Linked DNA regions of Homo sapiens: all the other regions are linked to region 1. The links are contacts of gene promoters, found by promoter capture Hi-C in blood cells and fetal thymus (Javierre and others, 2016). All regions are on one chromosome and are shown on one strand. The core of a region is centred on a gene start or on the middle of the fragment in contact, and the rest is flanking DNA. Distances in the headings are between cores, read along the strand shown.

What was found. Contacts are between HindIII fragments. The CHiCAGO score rates a contact against its expected background, and 5 or more counts as called.
Region 2: a fragment that was not itself captured here is called in contact with the fragment with the promoter of EBI3 in region 1 in 1 of 17 cell types (erythroblasts); the score reaches 5.1 in erythroblasts.
Region 3: a contact is called between a fragment that was not itself captured here and the fragment with the promoter of EBI3 in region 1, in 1 of 17 cell types (erythroblasts). The highest score is 5.4, in erythroblasts.

The regions. Positions count from the first base shown.
Region 1 is chr19:4,227,876-4,230,885 of GRCh38, reverse strand. EBI3 (Epstein-Barr virus induced 3) reads right to left here and starts at 1,363. Exons shown (of 5, transcript NM_005755.3): 1 at 1,269-1,363. The coding sequence starts at 1,335. RefSeq lists enhancers at 1-90, 1,054-1,143. The HindIII fragment of the contact is 27,046 bases long and covers 1-3,010 here.
Region 2 is chr19:3,848,130-3,851,426 of GRCh38, reverse strand. The region is part of intron 1 of ZFR2 (zinc finger RNA binding protein 2); the gene reads left to right. Among named protein-coding and RNA genes, the nearest start is that of ZFR2, 19 kb to the left of the region's middle. RefSeq lists an enhancer at 1,401-1,902. The HindIII fragment of the contact is 2,011 bases long and covers 997-3,007 here.
Region 3 is chr19:3,829,821-3,833,123 of GRCh38, reverse strand. ZFR2 (zinc finger RNA binding protein 2) reads left to right here. Exons shown (of 19, transcript NM_015174.2): 4 at 1,246-1,464; 5 at 1,568-1,821. Among named protein-coding and RNA genes, the nearest start is that of ZFR2, 38 kb to the left of the region's middle. RefSeq lists an enhancer at 1,282-1,871. The HindIII fragment of the contact is 1,366 bases long and covers 948-2,313 here.

The sequences.
Region 1 (3,010 bases), core at 114-2,613:
TTTTTTTTAAAGAGGGAGTCTCCCTCTGTCGCCTAGGCTGGAGTGCAGTGGCGAGATCTCGGCTCACTGCCACCCCCGCCTCCCGGGTTCAAGCGATTCTTAGCCTCCCGAGTAGCTGGGATTACAGGCATGTACTGCCACGCTTGGCTAATTTTTGTATTTTTAGTAGAGAGGGAGTTTCACCATGTTGGCCAGGCTGGTCTCAAACTCCTGACCTCAGGTGATCCACCTGCCTTGGCCTCCCAAAGTGCTGGAATTACAGGCGTGAGCCACCAAACCCAGCCTATAAATTATTATTATTATTATTATTTTGAGACAAGGTATCCCACTCTGTCACCTAGGCTGGAATGCAGTGGCACAATCATAGCTCACTGCAGCCTCCAATTCCTGGGCTCAAATTATCCTCCCACCTCAGCCTCCCAAGTAGCTGGGACTACAGGCACGTGCCACCACATCTAGCTAATTTTTTAATTTTTTGTACAGATTGGTGGGGTCCGGTTTCACTATGTTGCCCAGGCTGGTCTCGAATTCCTGGCCTCACGATCCTCACGCCCTGGCCTCCCAAAGTGCTGGAATTACAGGCATGAGCCACCATGCCCTGCTGTAACCATTTTGTCTTCAAGGACATGGAGATGTTCTCTAGTGCAAAATGAATGAATGTCGGCCGGGCGCGGTGGCTCACATCTGTCATCCCAGCACTTTGGGAGCCCGAGGTGGGTGGATCACCTGAGGTCAGGAGTTCAAGACCACCCTGGCCAACATGGTAAAACCCTATCTCTACTAAAAATATAAAAAGTAGCCGGGCATGGTGGCGGGCACCTGTAATCCCAACTACTCGGGAGGCTGAGGGAGGAGAATCTCGCTTGAACCCAGGAGATGGAGGTTTCAGTGAGCTGAGATGGTGCCACTGTACTCCAGCCTGGGCGACAGAGTGAGACTCTGTCTCAAAAAACAAAACCAAAAAGAAACCAAAGGAATGAGTGTGACTCAAATTCGCATGTCTGTGTAGCTATGTCTGTGTAGCTCTATGGATACCTCTGAGCTGTGACTGCCAGTCCCTATCACCCACAAGGTGACATCCTTCCACCCCCAATGTGGCACTCTGCCTCTCTGTGCCTCAGTTCCTCCATCTGTACAATGGGAGGGTAACCCCATCCCACCATTGGGCACGGGAGGATGTGATTTCCCACCCCAGACATGATCCGAGGCCAGTCCTCGTGTCATGTCCGTCTGCCTGGGCCCCCCAGTCCCCCAGGGGCCCCACATACCTTTCCTTCCACTGCAGGGCGGGCAGCTGGCCCAGAGGACAAGGGCCAGGAGAAGCTGCGGGGTCATGGCTGCGGCCAGCTCTGCTCTCAGGAGTGGGTGGGAACGTCGTGGGAGACTTGAGAGGGGAGGTGAGGACTTGGGACCTGCCCAGGGGAAAGCCCAGCCCAGGGTCAAGGCCCGCCCCCTCCCCGACTTCCTTCAGGTCTGACTCACTGGTGGGGCTCGTGGGGCCGCTAGGGAGATGAATTAGGGTGTGGAGGAGCCCCAGCCCCCTGGGGAGCACAGGCCACCCCTGCTCGGAAGGCCCCGAGGGTGGGGGCGGGGGAGGAGGCTGTGAAAGGGAGAAGTGGAGACCTGCTGGCTTTTCCCAGCACAGCATGTCCTGCTGGCCTTCCTTCCGCTGCCCTGAAGCGGGGGAAACCCCAGGCAGGCAGGCAGGGGCTCAGGGACATGGAGGGAGACAGAGGCAGAGATGGGGGAGAGAGGCAGAGAGACAGAGAAGACAGAAGGAAGACACAGAGAGACAGGGAGATGACAGAGACAGAGACACAGAGAGAGACACAGATGAGAGAGGCAGAGAGACAGAGACAAGAAGAGGAGGACACAGAGATAGAGGGATACAGAGACAGGGAGATGACAGAGACAGAGACAGAGAGACACAGATGAAAGAGGCAGAGAGACAGAGACGAGAGGAGGAGGACACAGAGATAGACAGGGAGATGACAGAGAGACACAGAGACACAGATGAAAGAGGCAGAGAGAAAGAGACGAGAGGAGGAGGACACAGAGAGAGAGAGACAGAGACAGGGAGATGACAGAGACAGAGACAGAGAGAGACACAGATGAGAGAGGCAGAGAGAAAGACAAGAGGAAGAGGACAAAGAGATAGAGAGACAGGGAGACGACAGAGACAGAGAGAGATACAGATGAGAGAGACAGAGATGAGAGGAGGAGGACACAGAGATAGATAGAGACAGGGAGATGACAGACAGAGAAAGGGGCATGACAGAGACAGAAACACAGAGAGAGACACAGAGATGAGAAAGGCAGAGATGAGAGGAGGAGGACACGGAGATAGACAGGGAGATGACAGAGACAGAGACAGAGACAAAGATGAGAGAGTCAGAGAGACAGATGAGAGGAGGACACAGAGATAGAGGGATAGAGAGACAGGGAGATGACAGAGACAGAGAGAGCTACAGATGAGAGAGGCAGAGAGACAGATGAGAGGAGGACACAGAGATAGAGGGATAGAGAGACAGGGAGATGACAGAGAAAGTGACAGAGATACAGATGAGAGAGGCAGAGAGACAAATGAGAGGAGGACACAGAGATAGAGAGAGACAGAGACAGGGAGATGACAGAGACAGAGAGAGATACAGATGAGAGAGGCAGAGAGACAGAGACGAGAGGAGGAGGACACAGAGATAGAGAGACAGGGAGATGACAGAGACAGAGAAAGGGGGATGACAGAGACAGAAACACAGAGAGAGACAGAGATGAGAGGAGGAGGACACAGAGATAGATAGGGAGATGATAGAGACAGAGAGAGACAGGGGAATGAGAGAGACAGAGACAGAGATGAGAGGAGGAGGACACAGAGACAGAGAGAGACAGGGAGATGATGGAAACAGAAAGAGAAACACAGAGAGCAGACAGACAGAGGAAGAGAGACAGAGGGACAGAGATAAGAGAGGAAGACAGAGATAGGGAAATGAGAGAGACACAGAGACAGAGATAA
Region 2 (3,297 bases), core at 753-3,252, 380 kb after region 1:
GCAATGACTTGAGATGAGGCAGGCCAAGTGTTCCCTTCCTGAGTCATGGTCACTGTGTGGTCACAGTCACCAAACACATATTACTCTTGGCTGTTCCCAGGCCCTGTTTTAGGTGTTTGTAAAGCCCTACACTGCTGAGAGCTGGCTTTGACTGTGCTTTCCTGCCGGTGACATGATGGCGCATGTGTTCTGTCCCCCTGTCCATCACCCCCTCTAGTTCTGGCCCCTGTGTGTCTCGTGTCCTTAATGGGCCTTCCCTCTAACTGCTCCCCTCTCTAACCGTCTCCACCTGTCTTGGTCGGCTGGGGCTTCCCTAACAATACCACAGACTGAGGCTTAAACAAAATGTATTTTTTCCCTGTTCTGGAGGCCAGAAGTGTGAGATCTAGGTGCCAGCAGGGGGTGGTTTCTGGTGAGGGCTCTCTCCTTGGCTTTCAGATGGCCACCTCCTCACAGTGTCCTCCTGTGGCTTTTTCTCTGTCCATGTGCACTGCTGGTGTCTCTTTTTTTTTTTTTTTTTTTTTTTGAAAAGACTGCCCTGTCATCCAGGTTGCAGTGCAGTGGTGAGATCACAGCTCACTGCAGCCTCAATCTCCTGAGCTTAATCGAGCCTCCCACCTCAGCCTCCCAAGGATCCACAGGCGCAAAGTGTGGTTTTTTTGTGTGTGTTTGTTTTGTTGTTGTTGTTGTTGTTGTTGTTGTTTTTCTGTAGAGATGGGATCCCAGTATCTTGCCCAGGCTGATGTCTAACTCCTGGGCTCAAGTGATCCTCCTGCCTCAGCCTCCCAAAGTGCTGGGATTAGAGGTGTGAGCCACTGTGCCCGGCCTCTTCCTTTTCTTATAAGGACCCCAGTTCTGCTCAGATCAGTCCCCACCTGATGACGTCATATAACCTTCATTCCCTCCCTGAAGGCCTCATCTCCAAATACAGTCACATGGGGGTTAGGGCTTCAACATAAGAATTGGGGGCAGGGGGACGTAATTCAGGCCAAAGCTTGTCATGAGATGCCCAGGTGGCTCCTCATGGCTGAGGATAAATCCCAGGTTCTACCTGGCACTGGAGAGCCCTGAGCTGCCTCCCGTCACCCCTCACCCTGATAACCTCTGTCCCTCAGCACCCAGGACAGTCGCCCCACCAGCACTCCTCATTTCTCCCACGCTCCTCTCAGCGAGCCCCTCCTCTTTGAAATCCCAGGCACCCTTCCCCGGGGCTTTTCCAGCCTCTGGGGGAGCCTCCTGGGTCTTCAGAGCAGTTGGCATGCCCCTCCTTCTCCCAGAGGGTGCCTGGGTTTCGCTGCCTCTGCCCCCGCGTCTCTGTTATCTGTGTAGGAGAGGCACTCCATTCCTGCCATCAGACAGCAGAGTGGCGGGACAGGGTGGGGACCTGCGGCGAGGTCAAGGGTATCTTGCCTGATGTCACCCTGACCCTGTATCCCTCACAGGTCCTCAGTCTGCTCACAGCTGTGACGTTCACAGGGTGTAACACTGAAACCAGTGGGAGTTGCCCTGCAGGCCAGCAGGGATGCTGAGACCTGCCCTCAGCCAGCGGACGTCCAGCCATCTGCATGTTGGTCGCACATCCATTTTCCCTGCGCCCTGGCTCAGTGGATTCCAAACTGTAGCGTGCCTGAGCATTGCTGTTCAGGGTTGTCTACAAGAAGAGCGTGTTCTTTTTCATTCACTGTCTTCATGGTGCTGACTCAAGCCTGACTCCAAGTCAGAGGCCAGCCTACAACATCCTGGGGATCCTTCCAGAGTATGGGCTGAACCAGGCAGGAAGCAGCCTTTGGCTCTGTCCACCTGCACAAGGCTACGCCCTGGCATTGAGCTTGTCCTAGACCATCAGTTCTTAACTGGTCAAGGTCTGGGAACATTTGTCATTGTCACGATTTGGGGGAGCTCCTGGCATGGAGTGGGTGGAGGCTGGGGACGCTGCTCAGCACGCTGCAGGGCCCAGAACGGCCCCACCCCAGAGAACAATGTTGTCCCAAATGTCAGAAGGGCCTGAGTTGGAAAGCTCTGCCCTCTGCTGCATGGGCTGTCTGATCTCTGCCATGGAGCCAGTTCACCAACCAGCCGCCTCCACTGTCCTCTTAGGTGGGGTGTCCACCAGGTGGAGACAAAGCTGTGTGCGGAGGCACAGCAGGAGCAGATAGAGAAAGCCCCACAGGTTCCTGCTCCTTCCTTGGGGTCCTGGGCTGAAGGACTCTGCTCAGCCTTCCACCTGAGGTTCACTTGCCCCCACAGCCCTCTGCTGGTGCTGCTCAGCACGCCTGGGCCTCCAGGTTGGAGGGGCAAGGTCTCAGGACCCAGGGAAGCCAGAGAAGAATGGAGCTTCCTCCCCAGAAAGCTACTCACGATTTACTATCTAGTACTGAACGCTTTGTGTTTTTGTTTGTTTGGTTTTTGTTTTGTTTTGTTTTGTTTTGTTTTGAGACGGAGTCTCGCTTTGTTGTCCAGGCTGGAGTGCAGTGGTGTGATCTCGGCTCACTGCAAGCTCCGCCTCCGGGGTTCATGCCATTCTCCTGCCTCAGCCTCCTGAGTAGCTGGGACTACAGGTGCCCGCCACCACACCTGGCTAATTTTTTTTTGTATTTTTAGTGGAGACGGGGTTTCACCGTGTTAGCCAGGATGGTCTCGATCTCCTGACCTCGTGATCCGCCCACCTCAGCCTCCCAAAGTGCTGGGATTACAGGCGTGAGCCACCGCGCCCAGCCTAACACTTTGTGTTTTTAAGAGATGGGGTCTTGCTCTGTTGCCCAGGCTGGAGTGCAGTGGTGTGATCTCAACCTACTAGGTTCAAGAAATCCTCCTGCCTCAGCCTCCTGAGGAGCTGGGACTGCAGGTGCACCACCATGCCTGGCTAATTTTTCTGTTTTGTAGAGATGGGATCTTGCTATGTTGCCCAGGCTGGTCTTAAACTCTTGGGCTCAAGAGATCCTCCCATCTTGGCCTCCCAGAGTGCTGGGATTACAGGTGTGAGACACCACACCTGGCCATGAAAGCTTTTTTCCGAGATGGAGTTTCGCTCTTATTGCCCAGCCTGGAGTGCAATGGCACAGTCTTGGGTCACTGCAACCTCCACCTCCCCCATTCAAGCGATCCTCCTGCCTCAGCCTCCCAAGTAGCTGGGATTACGGGCGCCCGCCACCATGCCTGGCTAATTTTTGCATTTTTAGCAGAGACGGGGTTTCACCATGTTGGCCAGGCTGGTCTCGAACTCCTGACATCAGGTGATCCACCTGCCTCGGCCTCCCAAAGTACTGGGATTACAGGCGTGAGCCACTGTGCCCAGCC
Region 3 (3,303 bases), core at 381-2,880, 400 kb after region 1:
GCACGCGCCACCATGCCTGGCTAATTTTTTTCTATTTTTAGTAGAAACGGGGTTTCACTATGTTAGCCAGGCTGGTCTTGAACTCCTGACATCAGGTGATCCACCTGCCTCGGCCTCCCAAAGTGCTGGGATTACAGGCGTGAGCCACTGCACCCCGTGAAAGTTACATGTTAACCATCCTAGAGGCCGGGCACGGTGGCTCACGCCTGTAATCCCAACACTTTGGGAGGCCCGAGGTGGGAGAATTGCTTGAACCTAGGAGTTCGAGACCAGCCTGGGCAACATAGTAAGACCCCCGTCTCTACAAAAAATGCAAAAAAATTAGCCAGGCATGGTGGTGTGCACCTGTAGTCCCAGCTACCCAGGAGGCTGAGGTAGGAGGTTCGCCTGAGCCCAGGAACTGAGCTGCAGTGAGCTGTGATCGCACCACTGCACTCCAGCCTGGGCAGCAGAGCAAGACCCTGTCTCTAAAAAATAAAAAATAAAAAAAAAAAACAAAATAAAGGCCGGGTGCAGCAGCTCACGCCTGTAATCCCAGCACTTTGCGAGGCAGAGGCGGGTGGATCACAAGGTCAAGCGATCGAGACCATCCTGGCCAACATGGTGAAACCCCATCTCTACTAAAAATAGAAAAATTAGCCGGGCAGGGTGGCGCATGCTTGTAATCCCAGCTATTCGGGAGGCTGAGGCAGGAGAATCACTTGAACCTGGAAGGTGGAGGTTGCAGTGAGCCGAGATCATGCCACTGCATTCCAACCTGGTGACAAAGCAAGACTCCGACTCAAAAAAAAAAAAATAATAATAATGATAATAAAAACATCCTAGATTTGCAGGTGAGCCTCAGAGCTGGCTGCTCAGATGGGCCCTGGGATCTCTGCCAGGTGTGGGCCTATGAATGAAGGAAAGTGAGGACTGAAAATGCAGCTAACATTTTTTCCAAGGAAGCTTTCCCGGGGTGGCAGGAGGTGAGCTCTGTGGGTGATGGAGCTGGAGATGCAGAGGAGCTTGTCTAGGGCACCCACAGCCCTCCTCCCCCATGGCAGGAGAGAGAAGCCGGGCTCTGGAAAGGAGAGGTGGGCACAAGGTAACCTGCGAGTCGCTGCCAGCACCTGGCCCAAGGCTCTGGCCTCTGGTCCTGGCTTAAGCATCTAGCGTGTTCCAGCCAGTTGAGTCCAGGGCCCATCTGCAGGTGAGGGACAGTGGGGTGGGGGTTGGCTCTGCAGAGGGCCTGTCCCTGTCCCCTAGGGACCCAAGAAGCCTGCGGGCAGCCCAGCCCCCATGGCAGTCACAGCCACGCTCAGCCCCCACAGCAGGCGCCCATAGTGGAGTCCGGACAGCCAGCGAGCACCTTGTCCTCGGGATACACCTACCCCACGGCGACAGGCGTCCAGCCCGAGTCGTCAGCTTCCATCGTGACCTCCTACCCCCCGCCCTCCTACAACCCCACCTGCACCGCCTACACGGGTAAGACCAGCGTTCCTTGCCCAGGTGGTCTGCCCGTCGGTCCCCACTTCAACTCAGTGGAATCAGCATCTCCCCCCGACTCATTGTTTTCTCTGCTGCTCAGCACCAAGCTACCCGAACTATGACGCGTCGGTGTACTCCGCTGCCAGCCCTTTCTATCCTCCAGCGCAGCCCCCGCCTCCCCCGGGACCCCCGCAGCAGCTGCCCCCGCCGCCCGCGCCTGCAGGCTCAGGAAGCAGCCCCAGGGCCGACTCGAAGCCACCGCTTCCCAGCAAGCTGCCGAGACCCAAGGCGGGGCCCAGGCAGCTCCAGCTTCACTACTGCGACATCTGCAAGATCAGCTGCGCTGGCCCCCAGGTCAGTCGCCCTCCTGCCATGGGCAGGCCCCAGGGACCTCTCTGTCCCCAACGTCTGAACCCGAATGTGGGCGCCGGTGGGGTGGTCAGGGTCGCTGCCTGCTGAAAGAAGGTCTGGTGTTAACTTGCATGTTGTATGCATGGCCTGTGTGTGCAAGCGCTTGTGTGTGTGTGCAAGTGTGAGTGTGTATGTGTGCGTGTGTTTATGCATGTGTATATGTGTGCATATGTGTGTGCAAACGTGAGTGTGCATGTATGTGTGCTTGCACGTATGTGTGCGCATGTGTGCCTGCATGTGCCTGTGTGTGCAAGCGTGTGTGTATGTGTGTGCATGTGTGTGCGTGTGTGTATGTGTGCGCATGTATGCCTGCATGTGTATGTGTGTGCATGCGCCCGTGTGTGTGTGTGCATGCGTGCTTGTGCTTGGCAGTGCTTGTTTGGGACATACGTGAAAGAATCTTTACCAAACACACGAGCTTGAGATTTTAAAGCTTGCAAATCACCCAGCTGAGATCGTGGGCTCAATTCCTGGAAAGATAATTAGACCCTAGAGCTCTGTCTTTGCAAAACACACACCCTGATCTTCTTTTGTTTTTAATACTCTGAAAGGAAGCTCTGGACCGCGGAGAGACACGGAGTCTGCAATCGCAGACTCTGGAGAGGTGTGAGAAGGCTCAGGACACCGTTATCAGGACCCCTGACCCAGCTGGGGATGGGGGGCCGGTCCCTGCTCAGGACCCCTCCCGCCCCAGATCACCCTTTCCCTGTCTCAGACTCTTTCCTCCAGCAGCTCTCCACTGTGTCTCATGCTGGGAGAGACCCCGGCCTTCTTTGCAGAGTGCTCGCATAGAAGTTTGAGTTTCTTTTGGAGACAAAGTCTCGCTCTGTTGCTCAGGCTAGGGTGCAGTGGTACAATCACAGCTCGCTACAGCCTCCACCTCCTGGGTTCAAGTGATCCTCCCCTCAGCCTTCCAAGTAGCTGAGACAGGTACGAACCACCATGCCCAGCTAATTTTTTAAATTTTCAATAGAGATGGGGTCTCACTATGTCGCCCAGGTCCAGTCTCGAACTCCTGGGCCCAAGCGATCCTCCTACCTCAGCCTCCTGAGTAGCTGGGATTACAGGTGCACACCACCATGCCTGGCTATTTAAAAAAAAATTTTTTTGTAGATACAGGGTCTCACTATGTTGCCCAGGCTGGTCTCGAACTCCTAAGCTCAAGGAATTCTTCTGCCTCAGCCTCCCATAGTGCCAGGATGACAAGCTGAGTCCCTGCGCCAGGCCCGTGTGGGTTATTTAATCCTTATATCTGCCTTGTGGCTACCATCTCTGTGTGGCAGATAAAATCCCAGAGGCTCAGAAAGGGTCAGTACTTTGAGGAACTCAGAGTCAGTTTTAGTGACCCAGGCAGAAATCAAACCAAGATGTGTTGAAGCCCACGTGGCTAATTACTGCAGTATACGCCAAAAGTGCACAAAGACA